Regions from separate parts of the Homo sapiens genome. Here region 2 is linked to region 1. The links are contacts of gene promoters, found by promoter capture Hi-C in human tissues and cell types (Jung and others, 2019). All regions are on one chromosome and are shown on one strand. The core of a region is centred on a gene start or on the middle of the fragment in contact, and the rest is flanking DNA. Distances in the headings are between cores, read along the strand shown. Region 1 holds the start of MEOX2 (mesenchyme homeobox 2). Region 2 overlaps MEOX2 (mesenchyme homeobox 2).

Region 1 (7,516 bases), core at 2,390-4,889:
TTCAGAAACAAATTACAACATTAATTTAATTATCCACCCTTTAGTTCATATATTATGAGTATATGTTACCAAGGAAAATTTATCTATTAGGTAAAATTCAAAGTAGAGTTTCCTATTTAATTTTAAATATTTGAAGTTCCATGACAACTCATGTCACACGTGTGCAGAAGAATGGCAACTTTTAAAAGAATCGTTGTGAATCTTAAAGTAAAATTTAAATACAATTTTGTTGTATTGCTTAATATGAGCTCTAGTCCCCTTAAAATAAAATAGTCCTAATAAAAAGAAATCTCTGCCTTTACTCTTGAATGTCATTTTATTTAAGCCGAGGAAACAATAGATATACACACTTATCAAGTTTAAAGAACCTAGCCTACGTTTAAAATAATTATAGCTGTGGACCCTGCAAGAGCTAAGTAGCTTACCTTTTCACAGAATCAACCTCTTTATAATGTGTTACTTGATATTGAAACCTTACATGAAATGTTGGCATTAATATAACTTATCTTCAGGAAAACTCAAGTATATTATAAATGTAGGATAAATACTATATCATACATAGTTGTAAATGATTGTTATATAGAAATTTTATAATAAATTTTATAATTTTTACCATTCTTCTTGATATCATTAGGTAAAAAGGCATCTTTTCAATATTGGATTTTATGGATGTGAACACTGAAGTAGCTATTATAGGAAATGCTAGGGATTTTTTTCCCGTTGTTACTACATTTTAAAAATTTCTCTATAACCTAGAACATAAAATTCAATATTCTATCTTATTCCAAATATTCTAATAAAATTTAAAAATCTTTATGTAATGATTAATACATATTTAGAAATCCAGAGAAAATTAAAGTTATATTTAATTCTGGAATTCACCAAGACGTCCTTTTTAGTCCTTCATTTTTTCCTTCCAAATATTTTCCTTATATTCTGTTTTCTATAAGAAAACTGGACATCATAATTTTTGCTGATATTAAATGTTCTGTGTCTTCAATTAAAAAGACCTTTCTTGCTAGCTTTGTTTTCATTGCATGCCTTTGGAATGACTTCCTCCTTTTCTAACCTTTCTTAAATTTTTCTTCCCAGGTTTCTGGCCCCACAGTTCTAGAGGCTGACTGACTGGGGCAGGTTGTAGAGAAACTTCTGGACAGGTTGTTAACATCTGACACAGTGAGTGAGAAAAAATCCAGCACAGTCACTGGGCAGGTTTAAGAAGAAGTGGCAGCCTCGGGAGATGAAAGGTTTGTGTGTGCTTGTTGCTGGTTACCTGCAACACACTGGTTAAATTCAAATCCATTCATTTAGTAATTGCTTAGCTTCCTCTAAACCAATGTAATGCAAACCAAAAGGACCGTTGTGGATGTTTTGTACTGATGTCTGCAGATCATGAGTAATTTTAGTCTGTCTTGTCTGACATTTTCCACAATGCTTTTAGTTGACAGCATTATATTATGTAAATATTTCTGGTTAGGTTTATTGAGGTGGTTGCCTAAATCTCACTTTAAATAAAGCCTTTAATGCTTTCACCCAGAATCCATAGAGAAGCTACATGAGTTGGGGAAGTTTAGTGTTGCTCTTTGTACTTTAACTTTTAATATCAGAGCACATATTGAAACCATAAACACAATGAAAATACAAAAAAATATTCCGACGATATTGGAGGACTATAACTCCCCCACCTCTTTTTATTCTTAAAGAGCCAAGGGCGTGGGGAGTGGCAGGAAGAGATATTCTCAAGATCTAAGTCCTGGACGCCATCCTGCGAGTGCTTAAAGCCCCTAGAAACGTGCAACCTGAACAACACCCCTTTTCGAAGTCTAAAACAATATTAGATTCCCAAAATATCGGCAAAGAAAGTCTTACCGTCAGACTTGCAGCAGGTTTCAGCTCAGACCCAGACTGAAAAGCTGAGCAGCTGGTGAACAAAAGATTTAGTTTTTTTTTTTTTTTAAACGAAGTCTGCAAAACTAATTTCCCTCAAAATAGAGCTCAATTTCCGTTAAAGAAAGCAGCGCTTACAAATCTCAGAATTCCTGATCAACCCCCACTCCACCCCACCTCTGAGCAATAGAAAACAATTCGATCTTTCACACGGATGTTATTGCGAAGCCACTATTCTGCAGTGTGACTTAAAAGAAAAGAAGATAGTGAGGCTTAAGCAAGGGGACTGGAAGAGGAGGGGAAAGGTTCTGCTTTGGGGACACCTCTCAAAGATTAATCAATGCTTTTTCCTAATTCAAACCAGATGTCTAGCCCAGTTTGCTGTACCCATTAATCCCACTAACAACTTCAAAGACCTGGTCATCATCCTCTGGACACCTGAGACAATGAAAAAACGGGGCGACACTGCTGGTGGCGCATTTGGGGCCCCGGGCAGAATAGGTGACTACAGATATTCTCCTGATGCGACAGGTCGCAGATGGGACATGACTGTTCCTCCTGCTCATTACAGCGCCACTCACTTGTGTGTAAACGACTCTGCCCCCAGCGGACCCTGTCGCCCGCCAAGCAAGTAGCAGCTTCAAAGCCCTGCCCTCGCTCTCGCATGCTTACTAGAGGCGAGTTTTCTATTTTATTTTCAGGGGTGCAAAATTGTAACCAAGTGCCCACGGTGAGTGAATTTTGGGAGCTATCGAAATGTAAGAATTCTCAGTAAATGGAACCCTGGTGGTAAGGAATGCATTAGCGGATTTATTTTTGAGCAGAAGAGAGTGGATTTCTGGAGGAAACCGAGGAGATCTGGGCTAGCTCCTGAGGGGAAAGGCTAGAAATGCGCGTGCAATCTACACATCTCATATGACCGGGACACAATCGCTTGGAAATATTCTTGACCCAGGAAAAGTTCTTCTTGGTGGACAAGTGGCTAGGAAATTGAGCGGGACCGGGAAAGAGGGGGAAGGGAGCCTCCACCTGGCATCGCACGTGAGGATGCCAGGGAGCAGGCATCTGCAACCCTTTCAGACTCACGCCTTCCTCCCACCCACCCAACCAGGTCCGTCTTCTTTCTGCACTGAGAACCGCCTTTTCCAGGCCATGGTGCTCATCCCCGCAACCTCAGATCTGGCGTCCCAGCCTATTAACAACCCACCGACAGAAACCAGCTGCGAAAACCTAGGCGCGCTGCGGCGCCCGGGGCACGGGAAGATGCAAAGTTTGAAAAACTTCGAGGGTGCGCCAAACTAGCTCTGGTCTTTTCCTTTAACCCTATTACTTCTTTCGTGTTCCTGAAAGGATAGGCGTATCCCTAGCTTTTCTGCAGGTGACAGTTCCCAAATGACACTGACAAGTCACGTTTCCCCGAGAGGAAAGTGAGTAGGTAGGAATCAGGGTGCTAGGTTGGGGGTGGTGTGCGCCGCGCCCAGGCCTCCAGAGTCTGGAGGGCAGAGCTGCTGCCCTCCCGGGCGGGACTTAGACGTTGGCGTGCCGCTTGTAGTCCTGGCAGCCGGCAGTGCTGGGCGGGCGTGGACGCTCTACGTCCGTCCAGCAGGAGATAGGAAGTGGAACTGGGAGCGCGTGGCGCAGGCTGAGCGGGAGTTTTGGAGGGAGTTTGCATGTGGTCAACTCTGGGCTCCTAAGCCAGCCCCCAGCTCACGTTACACTCTATTTATAACTTCTCAGAGCCATTTCCCCCTGAAAGCAGTTCTCTGGGACCACCTTCTTTTGGCTTCAACCTCTCCCACTCTTGACATCTGAGTAGCTCAGGGAAGCTCTTCCAGGTCCGACTGTTCATATGTAAAGGAGACTGGCCGCTGGGGCTCAGGACCGGGATTATCCGAGCTCTGCAGAAGTGCACCGCTATTGCTTTGGGAGGTTAAAAAAAAAATCACACGGTTTCCAGTGAAAAAGTGACAGAGGGTGGTGGCCTTTGGAACCGCCGTGAAGTCTTCTGCCTGGAACCCGAAACTTGCATGCTATGGAACACCCGCTCTTTGGCTGCCTGCGCAGCCCTCACGCCACGGCGCAAGGCTTGCACCCGTTCTCCCAATCCTCTCTCGCCCTCCATGGAAGATCTGACCATATGTCTTACCCCGAGCTCTCTACTTCTTCCTCATCTTGCATAATCGCGGGATACCCCAACGAAGAGGGCATGTTTGCCAGCCAGCATCACAGGGGGCACCACCACCACCACCACCACCACCACCATCACCACCATCAGCAGCAGCAGCACCAGGCTCTGCAAACCAACTGGCACCTCCCGCAGATGTCTTCCCCACCGAGTGCGGCTCGGCACAGCCTCTGCCTCCAGCCCGACTCTGGAGGGCCCCCAGAGTTGGGGAGCAGCCCGCCCGTCCTGTGCTCCAACTCTTCCAGCTTGGGCTCCAGCACCCCGACTGGGGCCGCGTGCGCGCCGGGGGACTACGGCCGCCAGGCACTGTCACCTGCGGAGGCGGAGAAGCGAAGCGGCGGCAAGAGGAAAAGCGACAGCTCAGGTAAGGGCGCGCCAGGCACCCTCGAGAGTGCGCGCCGGGCTGGAAAAGGGGCGGAGAGATACTAGGGGAGATTCTCGCACTGGAGGGTGGCAGCAGGGAAGATGGGAATGTGTTGCCCTCTGTGGCTTCCTGCGGCCAAATTCGGCGGTGAAGCTTTGGTCCTGATATTTGGGGACACGTGTTTATTCGAGAGCAATGCGTATACAGCCAGCAGCTCTAAGCCCTCCAAAGTCCTAAACTAGTTTACCAGAAGGTTGATAAAAAAGGACAAGTGGCTGTGAAATCGATTGTGAAGCGTGACCTTCCATCCCAGCGCTGGGGAGGGAGGGGCGTGCGCCCAGGGATGCAGCGTCCGTTGGGCAGGCGTGCGTGCGGGTGCCGCTTCTTGACTTTTCTCTTGCAAGTTGCCGACTCTGAGTGGCTCGATTTTTCCCATCGTTAACTGGATTTCCAAATTATTGCACAATGTTTGGAACTTGCAATGGAACTTGGCAGAGCGCATGAGAAAAAAAAGTTTCAGTTTTTTTTTTTTAACATTCTTATTTCAGCGTTCTTTAAATAGCACCCTATTTCAAATGGTAAAATTTTCCCTTTATTGGGGAAGAAGACATTATCTAGGAATTCAGATTTTAAGGAATGTGTCAGAGAATTGTAAATAAATAGATGCTCACACTGGAAGAAAGACGAACCTTAATAGTACATGTCCATGTGGTGTAAGCTAATTACAGAACCTAAGTTTCAAAAGTGGAAAATAAATCCCTCTACCAAGTGGGTATTAGTAGAGACAAATACTGCGAAGCAACAGCAACTCGGGTACTGTTAGTTAGATACGTGTCTAAAGGGGTATGCAAGGGTGCGCGCAGGAGGCGCTGATTTCAGTGGGGATAATTTGAGCAGCCATGCAAAAGGGGAACCTTCCTGACCTCTGGTGCTTGAAGGCACAACGTGCCGAATAAATTGTAGCAATCCAGAGAAACTCAAAGTTTCCAGACAAGTTTTCAAAGCTCTTACCTACCTGTATTTTTATAAAATTGTTAAAAGATACTTTAAAATTAAGAGACTTGTGAGTTTTCTTTCGTGGGTATAGTGCAACCTGGATTAAATACTTTTGGAAGGTGTCATTTGTTTAATATAATATTTGCATATTTTTCTTCCTCTGTGGAATTGGGTTAATAATAGTCCTAGAAGGTAATCCCATATGTTGGTTTGAAGGATTGGAAAAATGTTGATCGTGTGTAAAGCTTTAGGTAAGATGCCACATAAATGAAAATGATTGGCCGCATATTTAATATTCCTTCACCATTCACAGCAATATCAATTGTTCTTCAGCGTTACTATAGGATGGATTCTTCTCTCACGGTCTCAAAAGCTAACTTTTATTTTCCAAGGTCAGGGGGTGAACTTTTAATGTTCCATCACAAATTAGTTTTTATAAGAAAATTACCAGTAGTGTCACTGATATTTAATGTATTTTCCTAACTATAAGTGAAACTCTCTTTAGATAGTGAGTTGAAAGGTTAATCATAGCAAAAAGGTTTCAATTTTTATTAGAAAAACAGTCGATTTTAGAATGCAGTGACAATTTCATAAACTGAACATTTGATATCAGTGTAACTTTGGAAGCAGATCCCAGTTCGGGTTGATGAGCGTACTCTTGCAATTCCCATAAGCTCTTACGGTTCATTTTATTTCTTGCAATGAGAAACCTACATGATAGATTGTTCTTCATGCTTCCTGAACTGAGCCATTGCCCTTAAGTTTCTCAGGGCAAACAATTTTCATACAAGCACATGTTATTTTGTTTGGGGAAAACTGAGAAAACGGAATTCAATAACTGATTCCCTTAATTTATTTTAATAATTTTTTTAAAAAATGGAATAATTTAACAAAACTAATTTATCTCTCCCCCCCAACTTAGTGGGAAATAACCATTTAACAAAATTAAATTCATTTCTACATTTTGAAGCTGATAATGAGGGTACTGGAAAAACAAGCAAATATAAGTGTTTGTGTCAGCTACATAAATTATTAACAGATTAAAACTTCAGTGGAAAGTACAATTAGTCATCACCAAGGATAAAAATACTGGGGATTTAGAATGAGCTTTTCTTTCCTTTGATATGTTGAAGAAATATTGACTAAAAGGAAAATCACAATAGTTTCTGTTTAAATCTATGTACACTTATTGAAAATAAAATTTTATTTGCCAATTTCAGCTGAAGGTATATTTGTCAGATATTGAGATAGATTTAAATTAAAGATATCTTTCTCGTGTAACAATTGCATTAGGTGTTCCATAAATTATCTTCAAAGATATTTTATTTCATAGACATCTTGATCTAGCACAAACTAAAACAATATTGAAAATGATTATGATCCTGGTATGCTATTAATACGTATATCTCTCATTGCTTATAGCACATTTTAGTATTTCAATATTTCTAAAATATAAAATTGAAGTGATTTCGGAACTCCTGAAATTTAAAATTGTATTAGATAAAAATGTCATCCTATATAGTGAGATCATTTGTATTTTGTTAGGTAGTTTATAATTACTTTGCATTTATGGTTGAGAGAAAATTCAGTACATAAATCCAGGGTAAAGTCAGGACCAAAATTCTGTATCCCTGCATCTAATACTTAGACTGTATGTGTATGTGCTAATTCTAATTACCGTGTTAAATTCTAATAGAATTTTAAGCACCAGAAAGTATTGAAAAACAGCTTAAATATTTATAAACCTTACAATTTTATTCATAGTAACGATTTAAAACTATAATACGTAAGCTTCTCTAGCATATATTTTATGCACTTTCCCTCCACAAATGCACATGGACACACACATATGCAAACTCTAGCAGCTTCATGTTTTGGAAGCAAATATTTATGGACTTTAGGCTTCCTTTATGTAAGTTTATTGACAATTGAAAATAACCAAATTTAATAGAAAAACACACCATTATATTTTATATGTGTTAAACATTTTTGTAACTTTGAACCTGCTACGCTTTCCAGCATTATTAGCAAAGCCAACATCTGCCACGTCTTCAAAGGGACTCTTAAAAATCAAAACTTTACAA
Region 2 (6,666 bases), core at 1,382-3,881, 48 kb after region 1:
AAGGGTTCAACTCAATTCAGTAAGATTTAACTACCCTAAACATATATGCAACCCAAATGAATACATTTCTGAAACATACAATCTCCCAAGAGAGAACCAGGAAGACATTGAAATTCTGAACAGACAAATAATGAGTTATGAAATTGAATCAGTAATAAAAAACATCTACCAATTAAAAAAAGCCCAGGGCCAAATGGATTCATAGCCAAATTCTACCAGACATACAAGACAGAAGTGGTACCAACTTACTGAAATTATTCCAAGAAATCAAGGAGGAGAGTTTCCTTCCTAACTCATCCTACCACGATATCAAAATATGGCAAACCCACAACAACAACAACAAAAATAAAATCATAAGCCAATATCTCTGATGAACATAGATGCAAAAATTCTCAAGAAAATCCTAAGAAGCCAAATCTGGCAACATATCAAAAAAGATAATTCATCACGTTCAAGTTAGTTTAATTCCAGGGAAGCAAGGATAGTTCAACATACACAACTCAATAAATATGATTCACTATGTAAACAGAATTAAAAACAAAAACCATATGATAATCTCAGTAGATGCAGAAAAAGCATTTGTTAAAATCCAGCATCCTTCATGATAAAAACCCTCAACAAACCAGGCATTGAAGGAACATACTTCAAAATACTAAGAGCCATGTATGACAAACCCACAACTAACATCATACGGAATGGGGAAAATTTGAAAACATTCCCTTTAATAACTGAAAGAAGAAAAGTATGCCCACTCTCACCATTGCTATTCAACATTCAACATAGTACTGAAAGTCCTAGCAGGGCAAGCGAAAGAAACAAAAGGCATTCAAATTTGAAACAAGGAAGTCAATTTACCTCTGTTTACTGATGTCATGATCTTATATCTGGAAAACTCTAAACATTCCTTCAAAAAACTCCCAGATGTGAAAAATAACTTCAATAAAGTTTCAGGATTCAAAATTAATGTATAAAAATCAATTTCATTGTATACAACAACAGTGCTCAATCTCAGAACTGAATCAATGACCCAGTCTCCTTCACGGTAGCCAGAAACACACACACACACACACACACACACAAACACACACACACAACCCCCAAACAGCAACAACAACAAACCTAGAACAGACCTAACTAAGGAGGTGAAAGAATTCTACAAGGAGAACTACAAAGCACTGATTATAGAATCATAGATAATACAAACAAATGGAAAAACATCCCATGGATAGGAAGAATCAATATCATTAAAATGACTATATTTGCCCAAAGTGATCTACAGATTCAACACAATTCCTATTAAACTACTAATGTCATTTTTCACAGAATTAGAAAAACAATTCTAAAATCCACATGGAACCAAAAAAGAGAGCTCAAATAGCCAAAGCAATCGTAAGCAAAACAAACAAACAAAAAACAAAAGCAAACAAAACTGGGGATATGACATTACCTGACTTCAAAGGGTACTAGAAGGCTTTAGTAACCAAAACAGTTTGGTACTGGTACAATAGACACATAGATCAATGGAACAGAATAGAGAGCCTAGAAATAAAGCCACACTCCTAATGCTAGCTGATCTCCAACAAAGTCAACAAAAATAAACATGGAGAAAAGACACCGTTTTTAATAAATGGTTCCGGGAAAACTGGCTAGCTACATGCAGAAGAATGAAACTGGAACCTTATCTCTCACTATATACAAAAATTAACTGAAGATGTACCAAAGATCTAAACATAAGACCCAAAACTATAAAAAAAAGAGGAAAATCTAGGAAGAACTTTTTTAGAAACTGGCCTTTAGATTAAGACCTCAAAAGAAAATGCACCAAAAACAAAAGCAGACAAATGGGACTTATTAAACTAAAGAGCTTCTGCACAGCAAAAGACACAATCAATTGAATAATCAGAAAACCTAGAAACTGGAAGAAAATATTCAAAAACTCTGCATCCAACAAAAGACTAATATCCAGAATATATAAAGAACTTAAACAAATCCACAAGAAAATGACAGACAACCCCATTATAAAGTAGAAAAAGGACATGAACACATACTTCTCAAAAGAAGACATACAAGTTGCTAATAAACATATGAAAACATGCTCAACATCACAAATCATCAGTGAAATACAAATAAAAACCCCTATGAGATACCATCTCATACCAGTCAGAATGGCTATTATTAAAAAGTCAAAAAAATAACAGATGGTGAGGATGTGGAGAAAAGTGAATACTTTTACACCGTTGGTGGGAATGTAAATTAGCTTATATCCTATAGAAAACAGTATGGAGATTTCTCAGCTATAAAAAGAACTATAATTTCACCCAGCAATTCCACTACCGGGTATCTACCCAAAGGGAAAGGAATAATTGTATCAAAAAGTCACCTGTTTTTATCATGTTTATCACAGCACTATTCACAATAGCAAATTTATGGAATCAACCTAAATGTCCATCAACAGTTGATCGCGTAAAGAAATTGTGATATATATGCACCATGGAATATTATGGAGCCATAAAAAAGGTATCAAATCCTGTCCTCTACAGCAGTAGAGATGGAGTTGGAGGCCTTTATCTTAAGTGAAATAACTCAGAAAGAAATGAAATACACATGTTCTCACTTACAAGTGGAAGCTAAACGATAGGCACACATGGACACAAAGATGGAAATAATAGACCCTGGGGATTCCAAAAGGGGAGAGAGAGAAGGAGGAGAGGGTAAAAAATACTACCATGTTCACTATTTAGGTGATGGGTTCACTAGAAGCCCAAACCTTACGATTATGCAATATACCTACGTAACAGACCATCACATGTACGCCTCTGAACCTAAAAAATAAAGAAGATCTAGAAATGTTTTACATATGCACAAAATTTGCATGAATTAGACTAAATGCATATGAGACCAATGAAGACTAAATAAAACAAAGTATTTTAAGTGTGTTAACTGTAAATATATATGCCCATGCACATACAAACGTACATAAATAAAAGATAATGCCATTTAATTGCACTCAGAAAAATAATTTATGCTTTAAACTAGACTGCAATTTTTAGCAGCAAAGCTATAAAACATGAAAGAAATAAAAGCATACAGACTTTCACAACCTATTAACTTTTTAAAAAGTAATCATACACAACTCTTGCTGATTGCTTAAAGAAATTATGAGGATTGTGGATCTTTTAAAATACACAGGGGTGGAAAGAGCTAGAAAATAAAAATCATCTTTTTACTAAGTTCAAGATCACTAAAAATGAAATAAAGGTGTATTTCACTAAATGTTACGTGTCAAATGAAAGTTAAATGATTCAAATGAAATATGTAAACTAATAAATTTGACTTAGAAAAGGCTAATAAATGTAACAGTACCATCCTACTCCTGGTACATTTTAAGTTTAATATTACTAATAGTAGGTTTGTATTATTGAATTGATACTATATCTCAGATATACACACTTTAAATTCTCTAATTCTCCTATTTTCAACAATCCTGTGGATTCTTAGATGGGGAATCTGAATTTCAAAAACCAGCCTCAGAAGACCACACAGTAAGTAGCAACAACTGATATCCAACCCAAGTCTGCTGGCTTCAAAGCCCCGATATGTTCCCCAGCCACTCTTTCCTTCTAAATAACTAGAGTTGTAAACAGAACTGTACAAGTTATAGAGCTATAATTATAACTACAATTCTGTTTAATCAATGAAAAACTTTAAAAACTGGATACTACTAAGATTTTTCTGCTTATTGAGAAGTATTGCAAGATTAGCAGATGGTATGTTTTATGTGTGTGTGTGCGTGTGTGTGTGCGTGTGTGTGTGTGTGTATTGGAAAATTACATTTTAGGAGTAAGCACATCCTCTTTTTGTGGGTGGTAGCACACGTGTTCAGTAAAACAAAAATGTGTATGCTTCAAGTCCCTTTCTCTCCACCATGTAATGGAATACTGAATGCTATCTAATATCTAACTGGAAGAAACTTATGAATCATTTCAGAAATTATAAGATGTAACCTATGACGTATGTGAGTTTTGAGTGCCTGAATTTGTTATGCAATTACAACCCAAGGATTATCTGTAAGACCTAGATGAAAGCTTCACATTCACAGAAACTTAATGCCGTATCATTATATACTATCTTGGCAGAGATCAGAAATAGGTGTAGGACATTTTTCACATTTAAACTAATATGAAATTAAGTATGATTTTAAAAAACATTTCAGACTTCAGTGAAATTATTTTCCTAGTATAATTTACCCAACAGAATATTAAAGTTAGTCTCTAAAATATCATAAATAAATGGATAATTCTATGGTCTGAATGTGTTTCCCAAAATTCACGTGTTGAAAACTTGATCCCCAGGGCAACAGTGCTGGCAGGTGAGGCCTTTTGGGAGGTGTTTAGGTCATGAGGATTTCACTCCCATGAATGGATTAATGCCACTATGAAAAGGGCTTATATGAATGGGATCACGCTCTTTTGCCCTTCTGCCTTTTGCCATTAAGGATGCAGCCAGAAAGCACTCACCAGATGTTGCTGCCTTGATCGTGCACTTCTTCTCAGCCTCTAGGATTGTAGGAAATAAATTTCTGGTTTTTTAAAATAAATTATTCACTCAGGTATTCTGTTATAGCAGCACAAAATGGACTGAGGCAGATAATAATTACATTTATGTTCTTAAATTTCTATATGGCATGTATAATTGAATTTAAGATCTCCAAAGAAATGATTCAGATGCTCTCTAATTGGGAAAATCTTTGCAAAAAACAATCACAATTTGATTATAATGCAGATTCGTCAGCCTGAGATTGTTTTCCTTCTTGCCAATACAGCTACAATCATGTAACAGATCACAAGAATTTAACTTCACTAGCGCAGTCAAAAGGAAACTGATGCCTGAGCTAGAACCCTATGTTGTTTGGTATTTTATAATAAGTTTTATTTCATTACCTTTATGCATTATTTATTATTGTTTATAATTTGTTTATTATACTTTGAAACCAAAGCAAAATCAATTTATAAATTCTTGGTCATTAATCTTCCGATATGATTATTTCAGAAAAAATATCTAAGGGATTTTTTTTCTCAAACCCTCTATATGAAGAAACTCATAATTAGAGAAAATTTCTAAGTAAATAACAGCACAACATTTAAGAGAATCGGCTTGTAAGTGTTTTCAGTAAATACTTCTTATCTTGGTCTTCTAAAAATCCATTTAGAAGTATTAATTAAACTTTTTTTAATACTTTAACCACTAGGCAGAATGTGACTCCTATCTTCCTACATTTATGTACCTGTTTGACAGGACTCTAAAAGAGAAGAAACACACATACCCACACAAACACAAGCACACTATCTGACTCCGTTTTATTGGGTATGCCAGGTTTGGTTATGTTTCACTGAATTTCCAAATAAAACTTGCAGAGGAAATACAATTTCATACACTGATACCACTAAGCCTTGTAAAGTGTCACCTCCCCAGGTTCCTTGGAAAATTGTAATTAAACTTTCAGCTTCGTTTGTACATTAGCCAAAAATAACACATAGATACTTTTAGGGGCCCAACCATTTTTCAATGTAAAGTGGAACTCTGCTAGTCACTGTGTAAATTCCTAAATTCTTAGATTTTTAGATTGAGGTCCATTTTAAAAACAAAATTTTCCTACATTTTAAAAAAACTAATTATAACACATGATTTTATCAAATGCATAATTTTCAATTGCTAAGGCCTTGGACCACAGTCCTCTCCTAATAACGGCTAGAGTTTACAATTGATTATTGAGTGCCCGTAATATGTAGGCATTGTTCTACATGATTTGCTTAATTTAACCCTCTTCACTTAAAGTCTGTGTTAAAGATGAGCACAGGGGAGACAATAGGGGTTGAATAAGCAGATAAGGAGCAGAGAGGATGCTCTTAATATCTGTGTATTTGGAATGTTTGGTACTCAAGATTCTGTTTGAGTATTTTAGGTTTCATAACCATATTTAGTATCACAATTAAATGGCAGTGGTCCTCAAATCCTTGTTGTGAAAAGGCCATGCAGTAGGTAAAGGATATTTCAGGAGTTCATAAAATGTATTCCTGTTGGTTTCTGAAGCTGAATGACACTTAGGCCTAGGAACATTCTGTGACTATCTGTGACCATTGGTGAGCCCTTCAGCCACTTTGAGCCTCACTTTTCTCAGGTAGAGAGCAGGTGGAAATAGACGGTTTGTAAGAATCTCCTCAATTTCTAAAATGCATGCCTACAAAGTTAATATTTATTAATTCAGTCAGTATTTAATTAAATGATATGGATGTAATCAAATAGTTGATTTATTATTAGTGCTTATGTGCTTTGATGCATTGTAGAAACATAATACTTCCCTCTGAAATTTACTGAAACTCTCACACCTCTAAGGGATGGCTTAGGAACATGGTAATTTCTATGGTGATGCCATATGTGTCATTTTACTGTTCCATGTGGATAATCCTCTGAAGTTAGAGTCACTTATTCTGCAGTTATATTTTGGGTGAATTAGCACTGACAAAATCTCTTCTTGAACAATTTTATCTGCAAATAATCTCGTCATTGGCTTGGAGGAGACAAGGCGTGACCACAGTATAAAGGTGGGATTATTTACACATAAATAATGCGTGCAACTTATGAATCATGTTGGTCATTCCTAAAAAG

What was found. Contacts are between HindIII fragments. The study calls those that stand out against the background at their distance.
Region 2: a contact is called between a fragment that was not itself captured here and the fragment with the promoter of MEOX2 in region 1, in 1 of the 25 tissues and cell types used here (lymphoblastoid cells).

The regions. Positions count from the first base shown.
Region 1 is chr7:15,682,806-15,690,321 of GRCh38, reverse strand. It overlaps MEOX2 (mesenchyme homeobox 2), which reads left to right and starts at 3,639. Exons shown (of 3, transcript NM_005924.5): 1 at 3,639-4,436. The coding sequence starts at 3,920. LINC02587 (long intergenic non-protein coding RNA 2587) reads right to left here and starts at 1,944. Exons shown (of 2, transcript NR_110094.1): 1 at 1,870-1,944. RefSeq lists an enhancer at 4,443-5,275. The HindIII fragment of the contact is 7,827 bases long and covers 1-5,133 here.
Region 2 is chr7:15,634,668-15,641,333 of GRCh38, reverse strand. The region is part of intron 1 of MEOX2 (mesenchyme homeobox 2); the gene reads left to right. Among named protein-coding and RNA genes, the nearest start is that of MEOX2, 49 kb to the left of the region's middle. The HindIII fragment of the contact is 6,891 bases long and covers 1-6,076 here.